Regions from separate parts of the Homo sapiens genome. Here all the other regions are linked to region 4. The links are contacts of gene promoters, found by promoter capture Hi-C in blood cells and fetal thymus (Javierre and others, 2016). All regions are on one chromosome and are shown on one strand. Each heading gives the region's core, a stretch centred on a gene start or on the middle of the fragment in contact. The rest is flanking DNA. Distances are from core to core; before and after follow the strand shown. Region 1 overlaps HIPK2 (homeodomain interacting protein kinase 2). Region 2 overlaps HIPK2 (homeodomain interacting protein kinase 2). Region 3 overlaps HIPK2 (homeodomain interacting protein kinase 2). Region 4 holds the start of KDM7A (lysine demethylase 7A).

What was found. The method cuts DNA at HindIII sites, captures the fragments that hold promoters and counts their contacts. A CHiCAGO score of 5 or more calls a contact.
Region 1: a contact is called between a fragment that was not itself captured here and the fragment with the promoter of KDM7A in region 4, in 2 of 17 cell types (fetal thymus and naive CD4 T cells). The highest score is 7.2, in fetal thymus.
Region 2: a fragment that was not itself captured here is called in contact with the fragment with the promoter of KDM7A in region 4 in 2 of 17 cell types (neutrophils and fetal thymus); the score reaches 7.7 in neutrophils.
Region 3: a fragment that was not itself captured here is called in contact with the fragment with the promoter of KDM7A in region 4 in 2 of 17 cell types (monocytes and fetal thymus); the score reaches 5.2 in monocytes.

The regions. Positions count from the first base shown.
Region 1 is chr7:139,623,572-139,626,465 of GRCh38, forward strand. The region is part of intron 6 of HIPK2 (homeodomain interacting protein kinase 2); the gene reads right to left. Among named protein-coding and RNA genes, the nearest start is that of CLEC2L, 100 kb to the left of the region's middle. RefSeq lists a silencer at 2,818-2,894. The HindIII fragment of the contact is 7,682 bases long and covers 1-2,894 here.
Region 2 is chr7:139,642,323-139,645,390 of GRCh38, forward strand. All of the region lies in intron 2 of HIPK2 (homeodomain interacting protein kinase 2), which reads right to left. Among named protein-coding and RNA genes, the nearest start is that of CLEC2L, 120 kb to the left of the region's middle. The HindIII fragment of the contact is 6,710 bases long and covers 1-3,068 here.
Region 3 is chr7:139,597,511-139,600,757 of GRCh38, forward strand. HIPK2 (homeodomain interacting protein kinase 2) reads right to left here. Exons shown (of 15, transcript NM_022740.5): 11 at 2,907-3,086. The region is part of intron 2 of LOC105375530 (a long non-coding RNA gene); the gene reads left to right. Among named protein-coding and RNA genes, the nearest start is that of CLEC2L, 75 kb to the left of the region's middle. The HindIII fragment of the contact is 3,211 bases long and covers 1-3,154 here.
Region 4 is chr7:140,175,726-140,178,844 of GRCh38, forward strand. KDM7A (lysine demethylase 7A) reads right to left here and starts at 1,258. Exons shown (of 20, transcript NM_030647.2): 1 at 1,019-1,258. The coding sequence starts at 1,212. It overlaps KDM7A-DT (KDM7A divergent transcript), which reads left to right and starts at 1,536. Exons shown (of 1, transcript NR_024451.1): 1 at 1,536-3,119. RefSeq lists silencers at 1-266, 277-456, 1,097-1,196, 1,237-1,666 and an enhancer at 891-1,814. The HindIII fragment of the contact is 8,961 bases long and covers 1-3,075 here.

The sequences.
Region 1 (2,894 bases), core at 284-2,783, 550 kb before region 4:
GGAGGGATGGGTCCAGATTCCTTTGTACCGGAGTTCAGTTGTTTCAAGCATGGTTTTACATTAAAGAGGCACTATCTGTTTGTTGCAATGCCATTTGACTTGCTTCACTGATAGTAAGGCACAGAAATGAAATGGAGGCCCCACTATCCATGGTGGTGCCACCCACTCACTTCCTGTAGGCCAGAAAGGGGCGGGTCCAGCCTTGAGACCCAGCCCCCTCTGACTCTGGAGACAGCAGGGCCCGCCATGATACGCACAATTCTCACATCTCCAGGCTCTTCTCACAGGATTCCCTTCCCCTCCTGATCCTTATAGAATCTGCTGCTCTCTTGAGCACACCCCTTTTCCCTGCAGACGTAGGATGTGATTATTTATTCTTTTACATCCCAAGTACCTCAGGGTTGAGAGGCTGAAGTGAGACCCTCCATTACCTTCCCATCCACCAACGGCTTCCTATTTTTTTTTTTTTTTGACGGAGTCTCGCTCTGTCGCCCAGGCTGGAGTGCAGTGGCACTATCTCAGCTCACTGCAACCTCCGCCTCCTGGGTTCAAGCGATTCTTGTGCTTCAGCCTCCCAAGTAGCTGGGATTACAGAAGTGCGGCCACCACGCTTGGCTAATTTTTGTATTTTTAGTAGAGATGGGGTTTTACCATGCTGGCCAGGCTGGTCTGAGCTCCTGACCTCAGCTGATCCGCCCTCCTTGGCTTCCCAAAGTGCTGGGATTACAGGTGTGAGCCACTGCAACCGGCCATGACTTCGTTTCCTCTCCCCTTCGTTCACTGAGGCCTTTGCCACTGGCTGGACCTTCCTCTCCAAGCCATTCCCTGCCTCGCTAGGAAGGCTTCAGAAGTCACAGGTCCCTTTTTAAATACCCTGGCTTCCCGCTTACTTCTCATGTCCAGTGACTCTTGTTCTCAACCCAGTACAGCCACTCATTCCCTGGACCGTCAAACCTGAAATTGCTCCACCTCCAGAAACTACAAGTTTAAGCATCCTGTTTTCCCAGCCACATTCTTCCTCCATCTGGCTCATTCCACTATGACTATGATAACCCTTCTCTGCATTGACCAGAACACCACGTTTACTTGGATCCCCTCCCATCTTCACTTCCTTTCCCTTTGGGCAAAGTCTCCAATAGACATCATTCTGGATTACAGTTACTCTCTGGCTAGCCTCATCAGCTTCCTTGTCAATCTGTCTTCTTCTCTTACCAGCCTGGCAAAAATTCCACCTGGACAAACCTAGATCAGAAGACTCATCTGTCTTCTCTATGCCTTCACCTGGGGAGATGAGTTACACTATAAACGATTCATGTCGAACCTCAGGGCTCAACAATTCCACCGTATTTCTCTGGTCAGTTTGCTCTGCCACCTTCTGCTCCAGCTACCTAAACTTTCTACCCTTCTTAAACCACCCTCCACCTCGTTCTCAACAGATAACCTCATTGCCTACTTCTGAGAAGCAGAAGCTGTCTGACAGGACTCCCTCAACTTTTCTCCATGAGACCAGCACATACGCTGACATCCACATGCCCCTCGTCCATCTATCCTTCCAATGACACTGGCCCATCCCTGTGCTCTGAACCCTGTCTTAAAAACAATCCCCTTGACCCCTCCCCAGTCACCCCTCTATTTCTTCTCTTGCATAGCCTCACTTCATGAAAGGTTGCTATTTCTTCACCTCTCACTTGGTCTTTCAACCTGGTAAACTGGTTTCTGCTTTTACCACTCCACTGAATGGCTGCCACTGCGTTACTGACAACTTGTGAGTTGTTAAACCGAATGGACATTTTTTTCCAGACTCATTTGACTTGTGTGGCAGCAGACAGATCTTTGCTCAACACAGATCTAACCAGCTATTCCCTTGCTGAAGAATCATTTAATGAGTTCCCATTGCTTTTTGGATCAAGATTAAAAACCTTAACATGTACGGCCTGCCCTGGCTGACTGGATGCCTCACTGTCTCACCTACTGCCTTCTGGGATGGGTGCATGGTCCTGCCCATGGGGGAGTGTCCTGTCCATACAGGCAATGCCCTGCCTGCTCATGCCCATCCTCTTCCTCATCCTTCACAGGCCACTTCCTGGGAGTCTTCCTGGTTTGCCCCAAAATGAGGCTCCCCTGTGGGTATGCTCTCATCACACCTGATACTTGTCCTCATAGCAGCCTGGTGATTTGGGCATCACTTGTTTTATACCATTCTCTCTCTTACGGACTGCAAGCTCCAGTGGGCAGGGCCGTCTGCTCTGCTCACCACTGTACCCCGGCACACAGCACGCTGAAGAAATGAATGAACAAATCCAAACCCAAACTAGACTGGGTCCACTCTGGGAAGGTTCTGGGAGCAATCTTTGGCCCTGAGACTAGTTTTGCGCTACAGAGACTACCGTTTCGGGCACCTCTCTTCCTGCACAGATACCCAGAGTCAGGTTCATCCAGCTCTGTGCTCTCCTCTTCCCTCCTTTTCAGTGTGAAGCCAACTGCAGGCCAGGGACCCAGTCCAGCCACTGCCCACTTTCTTTCTTTTTTTCTTTCCTTTTTTTTTTTTTGAGATGGAGTCTCGCTCTGTCGCCCAGGCTGGAGTGCAATGGCGCGATCTCGGCTCACTGCAACCTCTGCTTCCCAGGTTCAAGCAATTCTCCTGCTTCAGCCTCCCAAATAGCTGGGATTACAGGTGCGCCCCACCACACCCAGCTGATTTTTGTATTTTTAGTAGAGACAGGGTTTCACCATATTGGCCAGGCTGGTCTCGAACTCCTGACCTCAGGTGATCCACCTGCCTGGGCCTCCCAAAGTGCTAGGATTACAGGCATGAGACACCACGCCCAGCCCTGCCCACTTTCATAAATGTTTCATTAGAATGCAGCCTCACTCATCTGTTTATGTATTGCATC
Region 2 (3,068 bases), core at 62-2,561, 530 kb before region 4:
AGCACAGGACCCAAGAAACAGTGGCAGAAATCTGAAGAGCAGGGAGGAGGAGGAGGCTATTTCAGAGGAATTGGAGCCAGAGGTAAGAGAGAGCTGCACAGAAGACAGCCAGAAAGGCAAGGGCTGGAAAGCACCTCGGGGCAGCTGCATGGAGAGACAACACGCCCTGTGACCACAGGCAAGCCTGCTGGGAAAACAGGGGCAGCCTCCCCACAGGATGAATCCACACCATGCCTAGGGGGATCCAGAAGGTCCAAGTGGAGATGTAGATGGCCATTGAGGTGAGCTAATCCCAGGTCAACCTGTGATTGGATTCTTAAAAAGACACACAGCTTCCTAGGCAAACAGGAGATCAAAGAGAAATAGTTTTGTCTTTGATTAGGGTGATAGGCAGACAAGCAAAAGGAAAAAGGGACCCAGAGATGAAGCTCTAGGAGCAAAACATGGGGGAGGTTGACAAGGGGCCCACCCATTGCGCTGGCTTCCACGGAGCCATCCTTGGAATGGCCAAGCCAAACACCGTGGACCCCAAGATCTCTGTGCACTCTGCAGCAGGGTACTTTTGCCTGGTTATAAGCTGAAGAAATTAAGGTGGAGAGCTGCTGCAAGGGAACAGGGTTCCAACTCCAAAAGGAGAGCTGGGGGGACAGACACGACACCCAAACTTCTGGGTGGTTGCAGCTTGATGTAATACACGTAGAACCACTGTTGCAGAGATTTTCTACCTAAGGGGCCGCTACTGATGTCCATAAAACTGTGTGCTAAGGAGGATCATTTCAGACCCTCACTGATGATTCTGTCATAACTGAGTATCTTCAGCTATCACCAATACAAGTGCTGAAGACTTCAGAATGAACCATCATATCCATATGGAGGTTGATATAATTGCAGTTGGGTCTAGATGTTGACATCATTCTCATGGCACACTTGGACAGTCTCTTAAAGGATGCAGGCTTCCTTGATTCAACTGGCCATTCCCTGTATAATGTTAGAATCAGATTGGCGGTTTTTTCTATTCATATTGGCAGTGAACATCTTGGCTCTGAATATGTACTAAATACACACACACACACACACACACACACACATTTTCACACTGATCCTTCGTTCTTAGTCCTGCTCCAACTCTGCTAAGCGTAGCACCAAAATCTAACTCACTTGTTTACATGCCAGAGGAGAAGGTTGCATCTGCAACTGAAATGAATATAATCTCCAAAGGCTTCTGGTGATGTTGGTGCAAACTGGAAACCAGTTCTCAGATGTCCAGAGCATACTGGCCTCTAAATTTGTGGTTATGTGCTTGTGCATGTAGAATAAAGTGAAGAAAGTACAGCCAGGGACATGGATCCACCTAAACGATATTGACTTGACTTGGTGAAATAAGAAAAGCAAGAAGGGAAGGAAAGAAGAAAAAAAGAAAACTATGAATTGTAATGTCAATGAGGAAGGTTCCTAGAAGAACCAGTTTGGACTCCATGATAAGTATTTCAAAGATACTCACGCTGCCCTGTAATTCCTGAGATCCTTATACTCCTGACACGTGCTGTGCCTGCTTTACCCATCCCTGGCCTGGGTGGCCCAATATCCCCCAATCTGGTCTCTGGTGCTATACCATGAAGCTCTGCGTTGCTGGAGAAAGCCTGTTCTGACCTCCCAGCACTCTACCAGACTACAGTGTCACCAGGCCACGCTTTATGCTTGGTGACTTTTGTCAAAGAATGTGCTCAACAAATGTTTGCAGAAGCACCTATCAGCCAGAGAAATGGAACCATGTGTCTCTGCAGGTGCCTATCTATGTAATCTTTTCATATGTATACTGCTCCAGGCTCTTTTTAAATGTTTTTATCTTTTTTTTTAATTATGAAAGAGAATATATATACAAAGAAGTATACAACAAAAACGTATACCTTAACAACTTATTGGAAAACAAAGACCAGTGTCACTACCAGCCAGGTGAAGAAACAGAGCACTGTCAACATCACAAAAGCCCTGTGGTATTTCCTCCCATCCGCTGTCCCTCCTCCTCAAAGGGGCTCTGAAGTCACCATGTGTGGGAGGTGACATGCAGCCTGCACACTCAAGCCTGGGTATGGGTGCACATCGGTGTGGCAGCCCCCATGCCTCGCTGTGCTCTGCCACTGTGCTCAGATGAGGCTCCTGCCCAGGTGAGCGCAAAGGCCAGAGGCTGGGAATCCCAACACAGTGGCTGAGAAAGGAGCCAGGCCTCAGCCATTCTTTTATGATGGTCCTCATCATGGATCCTTTTGTTGACTGTTTTTCTTCCGATTCATTGTTAGTCTGTTGACTGAAGCCGAGGGTTGAAACTGGGCATTTAGAGCTGTGTTGGGAAGCCTGCTGATTCTGGGAAGGCCTAACCCAAGTCCCACTGTCACCTGCTGTCACTTTTCAGCTTTCTGGGACCACTCTTCTTTTCTCTGCACTGGCAAGGGATTTGGAATTTCAATTCCTGTGGATCAACTGCAGATGTGGCGTCTTCACTTTATTCAGCCTGGTGATGTTACCCACTTATAGTGATCATGAGATGTGAGGCTGGGGAAAAGGCTGGTCTCTTCCACACTAACACATTAATTCAAGGTTCACCCTCTACTCTAGATGGATGCATACTAAGAAAGTAACATCACTTATGTGCAACTTTACTGATTTAAATGCAAAACTTCTCATTGCTTCAACATTTAGCTTCGACTGGTTCATGGTGAGGCCTCAATAAGTGTTTGCTGGATGAATGAATGAACCAACAACAGGCAGAAGAAACACGATGCTTTCCTTTCCAAGGTTCCCAGTGCCTCCACTGGAGAAGCCCCGAATCCCCAACTCTCAGATGAGTGACTGTGCCATAGACAAGGCTCATCTTTGGGGTATTTTCTTTCCTTACAGCACCATCTGATCATGTGGCTTGTGGAGCTAAGTCACAGTCAGTCTTTATGGCTGACAGTCTGGGATAAAAGACAGAAACTTGCTCCTTCTTTGAAAGGGAGATACATTCAGTGTCACCAGCCGGAGACATACCAATTAAGAGAACAGAAGCCAGAAACTTGAGCTATGAAAAG
Region 3 (3,247 bases), core at 299-2,798, 580 kb before region 4:
CAGGATCTAAAGGACCTAACCTTGGTGACCAGTGGTTCAGTTTTCCTTCTTTCCTCCTCTGGAAAAAGAACATGACCATCAAAGTATTTGTGTGCATATAATTGCTAAAAACCTTAAAAATGATTTTTCTGGATTTTGCCTCGTGGAGCCTCATGGGAGGCGCATTAGTCTAAATTGTAATAGAAAATTTGGAAAAGTGCAAGAGTTTTGAAAAAGCACTCTTAAAAAGAGAACTTTTAATCTTAATTTTGATCAACTTGAAATTCCTTACTAAATTAACCAGTGTGATTTTTGGTAACTTTAGGGGAAAAATACTTTCTCCCCTCCCTATTAGATCCTCACTGACTCTGGCACAGGGTGAACATCTTTTACCTGAAATGCTTGGTCCAGAAGTGTTTCGGATTTTTGTTTTCAGATTTTGGAATATTTGCATATACATAATGAGATATATTGGGGATGAAACCCAAGTCTAAACACAAAATTCTTTTGTTTCATATACACCTTATACACATAGCCTGAGGTCATTTTATACATTATTTTATAATAATTTTCTGGATGAAACAAAGTTTTGACTGAGACCACATGTCAGGTGTGGAATTTTCCACTTACGGCATCATGTCAATCCTCAAAAAGTTCCGAATTTGGGACAATTTTGGAGTTCTGGATTAGGGATGCTCAACCTGTAGTATCTATGCAGTGAGAGACTAACAGCAATGTATAATGAAACTCAGACTTTTATATGTCTTTAGAGATTCTAGCACCTTCTAGCTAAAGGGATGGCAGTAAAATGAAAATAATTCAATAAAGGTGGATTTATTTTCCTATCTAGCTAGTGCCAGATACATTGCTTGCTCCTTCTAGGGACTGGTAATATGTTTCACTGATATGATTGTACCATTGTTTGTACTTACTATAAACCTATGTATTTGTCGTTGCTAATACATTACAATTTTAAGATTATGTTTTTCACTACCAATGGTTTTAGTATCTCCACTTGGCATTGTTAAGGAAAAGTATGCCTGGCCACATCACCAACAAGGGAGAGACTTCTGGTCTTTCAGACTGTTTTGCTAAGGCATTGGTCTTAAAAATAAGCAAATACATACCTTTCACTATAATTATATCGATCTTGAAATGTACTGGCAATGAGGCTTCATGAAGTCAGCTGGGTGGTGAGTAAACAAAAAGGAGGGACTTGCTAAACAGGTTGGGAGGCTAAGGGTTCTTACTGCCCCTACTCAGCCAAGGTGAACCACAAAGATGCTAAGCTCAGTCCTGGGACAGAGTAGTGCTCCATGTGACCTTGCTGGGCATGACAGCCCATGAGGATTGAGACAGTGGACTTTGTTGCCACCCAGTCTAATAATGACATGGGTGAGCTGTCACAAGGCTGCCAAACAAAAGCGTTCTGGAAAGCTGCCAATGATCTGAGATAAATTTCCCTGAGTTGTCAGAAATACCCAAATAAGGAATCTTGGAGGATGACAACTTCAGCCCTTGGATGAATTTTTGAATAAGAATGAAAAGAAAAAGGCCTAGTTTCTGGTATCTGCTTATATGAGGAAGCAGAAAACCAAAATCACTAGACATTTTGTATACCAGATTTCTCTTGATTGACTTATCGCAAATAAGCAATTAAGCACCTCAAAGCTGTGCCATTAGGAAGAGATGCAGGAGCAATCCTGTAGTCACACGATCTCTCTCTCTCTCTCTGGCTTGGAAATCTCCATTTTTTAAAAAGTCAGGTTTATTAAGGTATAACTGACATATAGCAACATTTCTCCCTTTGAAGTGTTTGATGAGTTTTGACAAATGCACAGTCATAACCCCCCCTACAATCCAGACTTAGAGCTTTTCCCCTCAGGATTCTTCGCAGTCAATCTCCTCCTCTCCTACTGGTCTCTGGCAAGCCCTAATCGGATCTCTGTCTCTATGTTTTGCCTTTTCCGAAATGCCATATAGATGGAATCATACAGCATGCAGCCTTTTGTTGACCTTGATTTTTTCAAAGTGTTCATTGAGATGAGAATGGATTTAAAGGGAATGGGAAAGATTTGTGTTCTGCTGGTTAGTGTCTGGGATTAAACAAGCTATTGCTTCTATTTAAGCAAGGTGCTAAATCAGTTAAACTTCTGATCTTAGATACAAAGAAAGCACATTTCTTTAGTATTTTTTAAAACATTTTTAAACAACTTCAACATTTTAAAATATTTTAAAACAATTATTATGGTAAATTGTTTCCAAAATGAAACTTCAGGTGAAGCTGAGTGTTCTCCAGACAAGTAGAAAGTGACAAAAGATAATTTGCTTCACCAAACTTTAGTCAGGCTTGTGAACCTTCTCCTAGGTCTAACTGTGCACTCTGCTGTACAATCTACTTTTGGCAAAAAACCTTGCTAAGTCAGTTTAGCAAGAACCCACCATCCCTGATATCTGATCACCCTCGATATCTGATGAGGTTCCTCATCCTCCAGGTGTGATATCTGATCACCCGGGCCTGTCATTAGCAAGAATCCTGTTAGGTCAGTTTAGGCAGAATCTCCCTTACCCCTGATGCTTCCTCTTAGTAACTTCCCATCCACCGACACCCCCCAACCCTGCCTTGGCTATAAATTTTCACTCGCCCACGCTGTATGGAGTTGAGCCCAATCTCTCTTGCCCACTGCAAGATTCCATTGCATCCATCCCTACACTATTACCACGGTCTTAAACCAAGTGCTTCCTGCAAACCCTAGGCCAAACCAGGTGGTACAGGATGTTTTGCTAGTCACTGCAGGAAGAGGAGTGCCCCCATCCCATGCAACTGTCCCATGTTCAGAGTGGGTGCTGATACTCCCTAAACTACATTTCTTTAGCACTCACATCCCCTGGGATTTCTCTTCCCTAGGGTGGCTCTCACCACCTACCTCACAGATGACTGGTGCTGCTTACTCTTCCGGGAGGAGGTGGTGCTGGTTGGCTGCTGCCGCATCACGTGGGCCACACCCACATTTAAGGGCTGTGCTGCTGGAAGGGTCACATGACCGGTCAATAGTGCAGGCTGCTGCATGATGGGATTATAATGGCTTCCGTGAGCATGCGTATTTCTGAAAGGCAACCGGGACAACAAGGTGCCTTAGAGGTGTTCTAAAAGTAGAGCTCCTCTATAAGATCAAGCTTCCTCCCCAATTAAACGCTGACTGCAGTTGGTTATCTCACTAGCTGTGCAGCTGCTGAAGGGATGAGCCTGGCCATGTGTGCTCAACGG
Region 4 (3,119 bases), core at 8-2,507:
CGGAGCGCGGCGGCGGCTGAATCAGAGGGCAGCGTCCGCCGCCGCCGCCAGCCGGCCCCGCAGCGTCCGCCCGGCCGACTCAAGTTCGCCGGCACCGGCGCCCGGGCACAGCCGCAGGCGGTCCCGGTGTCGCCAGCTTCGAGCGATGGCAACTGCACTCTTTGTAAAGTTTAAGCCGCGGCGCGAGGGCAACGCAGGGGGTCCGGAGAAGCGTTCCCTTCGGGCCGCCGCAACCCACTCCATCTGCCCCAGTCCCGGCGACCCGGGTGTGTGCGGGGGCCCAGGACCGCGACCCGGGTCAACCTGCCGCCCGCCGGGGGCCCGGCCCCAACTTCCCCGGCACCTTTCAAGTCCCCGAGAGCGAGTGCCTCATCTGTTGCTCTGTTTACTCCGCGGAGCCCCGCCGAGCTGGCTGGCGCGGTCGCCTCTCCGGCCCGCCGCTGCCCCCGTCCCACTGGCCCAGGAAGTTTGATAAAGACGGGGAAGGGGGCGCGACAGGGACCCGCGGCGCGGAGGAGACGCGGGGCCGGGGCGACCCCATCGCCGCCCGGAAGGAAGGCAGGCGCGTCGGCCGGCCGGGCAGAGCGGCGGGGCGGCCGGCGACTCCGGCCGGAGCCCCGGGCGCGGCGGGGCGGGGCGGGGCGGCGGCGGCCCGGGCTGGCGAGGGGCTGCGGACCCGGCCGGCGCTCCGCCCGACGCCCCCGCCGCGCCCGCCCGGCCGCGTCCCCTCGCCCCAGGCTCCCCCTGCCAACTTATCCGCCGGCCCTCTTTGTTCGTGTTTGTTGTGGCGACTCTTCGCCCGGGCCAGGCGAGCCCACCGGCTCCCCTCTGGAGCCCGCCCGGCGAACCCGGGGCACCGCGCGCCCCACTGCCCGGCCGGGGGGCTAGGCACCGGGGCCCCCTGAAAGCTGGGCGCGGCGCGGCGGCCCGGCCCGAGGGAGGCGCGGGCGGCCGGCGGCGGCGGCGGTTGGTCGGTGGCCGGCGGTGGCGGCTGCGGGGCTGGAGGGGGTTTATTTACCTGCCGTGGAACCAGTCCTTGCAGATATCGCACTCGATCATGAAGCGGTTCACGTCGTACGGCTGCCGGCACACACAGTACACGGGCGGGGGCGGCGGAGGCGCCGAGGCCCGGCCGGGAGCCGCCACCGACACGGCTGCCGCGGCGGCTCCAGCTGCTGCTCCCGCGGCCACCGCCGCCGCCGCTCCGGCCATCTTTAAAAAACACACACACGCTCGCTCGCTACTCCGCTCGCCGACTGGAGCGAGCGCAGCCGCCAGCCAGCGCCGCCTCCTGCAGCAGCCGCGGCGGCGGCGGCGCCTCAGTGCGCGCGCGCGAGGCCGCGGCGGCTGGCGGAGGGGGAGGAGGCGCGCGCGACGCGCGAGGCCCAGACTCGGCTGCTTCCGGCGCTCGGCGCGGGGCCGTGCGTCTCGCGCACGTCTCTGGCGCCGGCGCGCGCTCCCCGCTCCTCTCCGCGACGGCCGGGCGGAGGGAGCTGTTGAAGGGCACGCAGGCGGCTGCGGGGGCGGAGGGAGCTGAGGCCCCGTGAGGACACGCGCGGTGGTGGCGGTGGCGGCGGGCGCGCGGCCGCAGCCGGAGGAGGACGGCGGGAGCGTGCGAGGAGCTGGCTCGGTTATTTCGGAGCGAGAGCCGAGGCCGGGGGAAGTTCCTGCGGAGTGCTCAAGGGCAGAAGAGGTGCCGCGTCCCGAAGAGGGGAAGCGGAGAAGTTTGCTGCTGCCCGGGTCGCCTCGCGACGCTGAGAGAATCGCCCAGCCCTCCGCAGCCGCCCAGCGAGAACCGGAGCTGCGGCCCCGCACCGGCGTGAGTCCAGCTGAGCTGACACGCCGAGCCGGTTGTGCCTTTCCGAGGGAGGAATGTGCCGTGGAATCCAAACTTTGGAAAACGTCCCACCCGAATTCCCAGCGAGCAGCAAGGAGACCAGAGCGTCGATGGAGCCACCGTTAGTTGCGGGAGGGCTGTCCCCAAGAGGAATTCATCACTGTCGTCCGCTGGGAGGGACCAACCTTGAAATGGGGTTGGTGGAGAGAGGGATAGAGAAGAGCCGGCGTGCTTATAAATAACAAAACTTAGCTATGAACCCTTCCGATTCCCAAGTGGGGAAGATGGGGTAAAATTCTAAGTGACTTCTCGCTCCGAAGAGGGATACCACAAAAAGCGGAGCGCAGGGTACTTGGCGTATAATAAGCCATCAATAATTTATGGGTGAAATTGAGAGCCAAATATAAGATGATAAACTGAAGAATAAAAACAGCTGACAAATACTGTATAGAAAAGATTGCGTTGGAATCATAACTGTGGATTGGAAGTGATGTTAAGGATTATTGGATTGAGTATTTGTAGCTGAATTTCTGCTGGCATTTCTATCAGTGGGGAAAGCCCTCACAGCTCCATAGGTAATTTTTGTTAGGGGAGGAAGAAGTGTTGTTCTGTCACCCACCCCCAGGCAAAGAGTCGCTGATCTAATTCTCCATTTCTTTCTTTCTTTCCTTTCTTTCCTTCCTTCCTTCCTTCCTTCCTTCCTTCCTTCCTTCCTTCCTTCCCTCCCTCCCTTTCCTTTCCTTTCCTTTCCTTTCTTTCCTTTCTTTCTTTGAAACGGAGTTTCGTTCTTGTTGCCCGCGCTGGAGTGCAGTGCAGTGCTGTGATCTCGGCTCATTGCAACTTCCACCTCCCGGGTTCGAGGGATCCTCCTGCCTCAGCCTCCCAAGTAGCTGGGATTACAGGCGCACGCCACCGCACCCGGGTAATTTTGTATTTTTAATAGAGACGGGGTTTCACCATGTTGGCCAGGCTGTTTGAACTCCTGACCTCAAGTGATCCGCCCGCCTCGGCCTCTCAAAGTGCTGGGATTACAGGCGTGAGCCACCAAGTCCTGCCTAATCTCCTTTTTATAGTTGAGGAAAGCTAGTAACTTGACTGAAGTCTCATATATTAGAGCTGTAACTGAAGTTTTTAAGTGTCTCAATTCTGCAACTATTCGTTTTTCTATCACATCACTGTTTGGCATATATATAGCGGGAAAAGGAAAGGCTGGAAATTAGTTGACCACACACTGATTAAGCTTGAAACATATTTCTACTGGAGAAAAAAAGGTACTGTAATT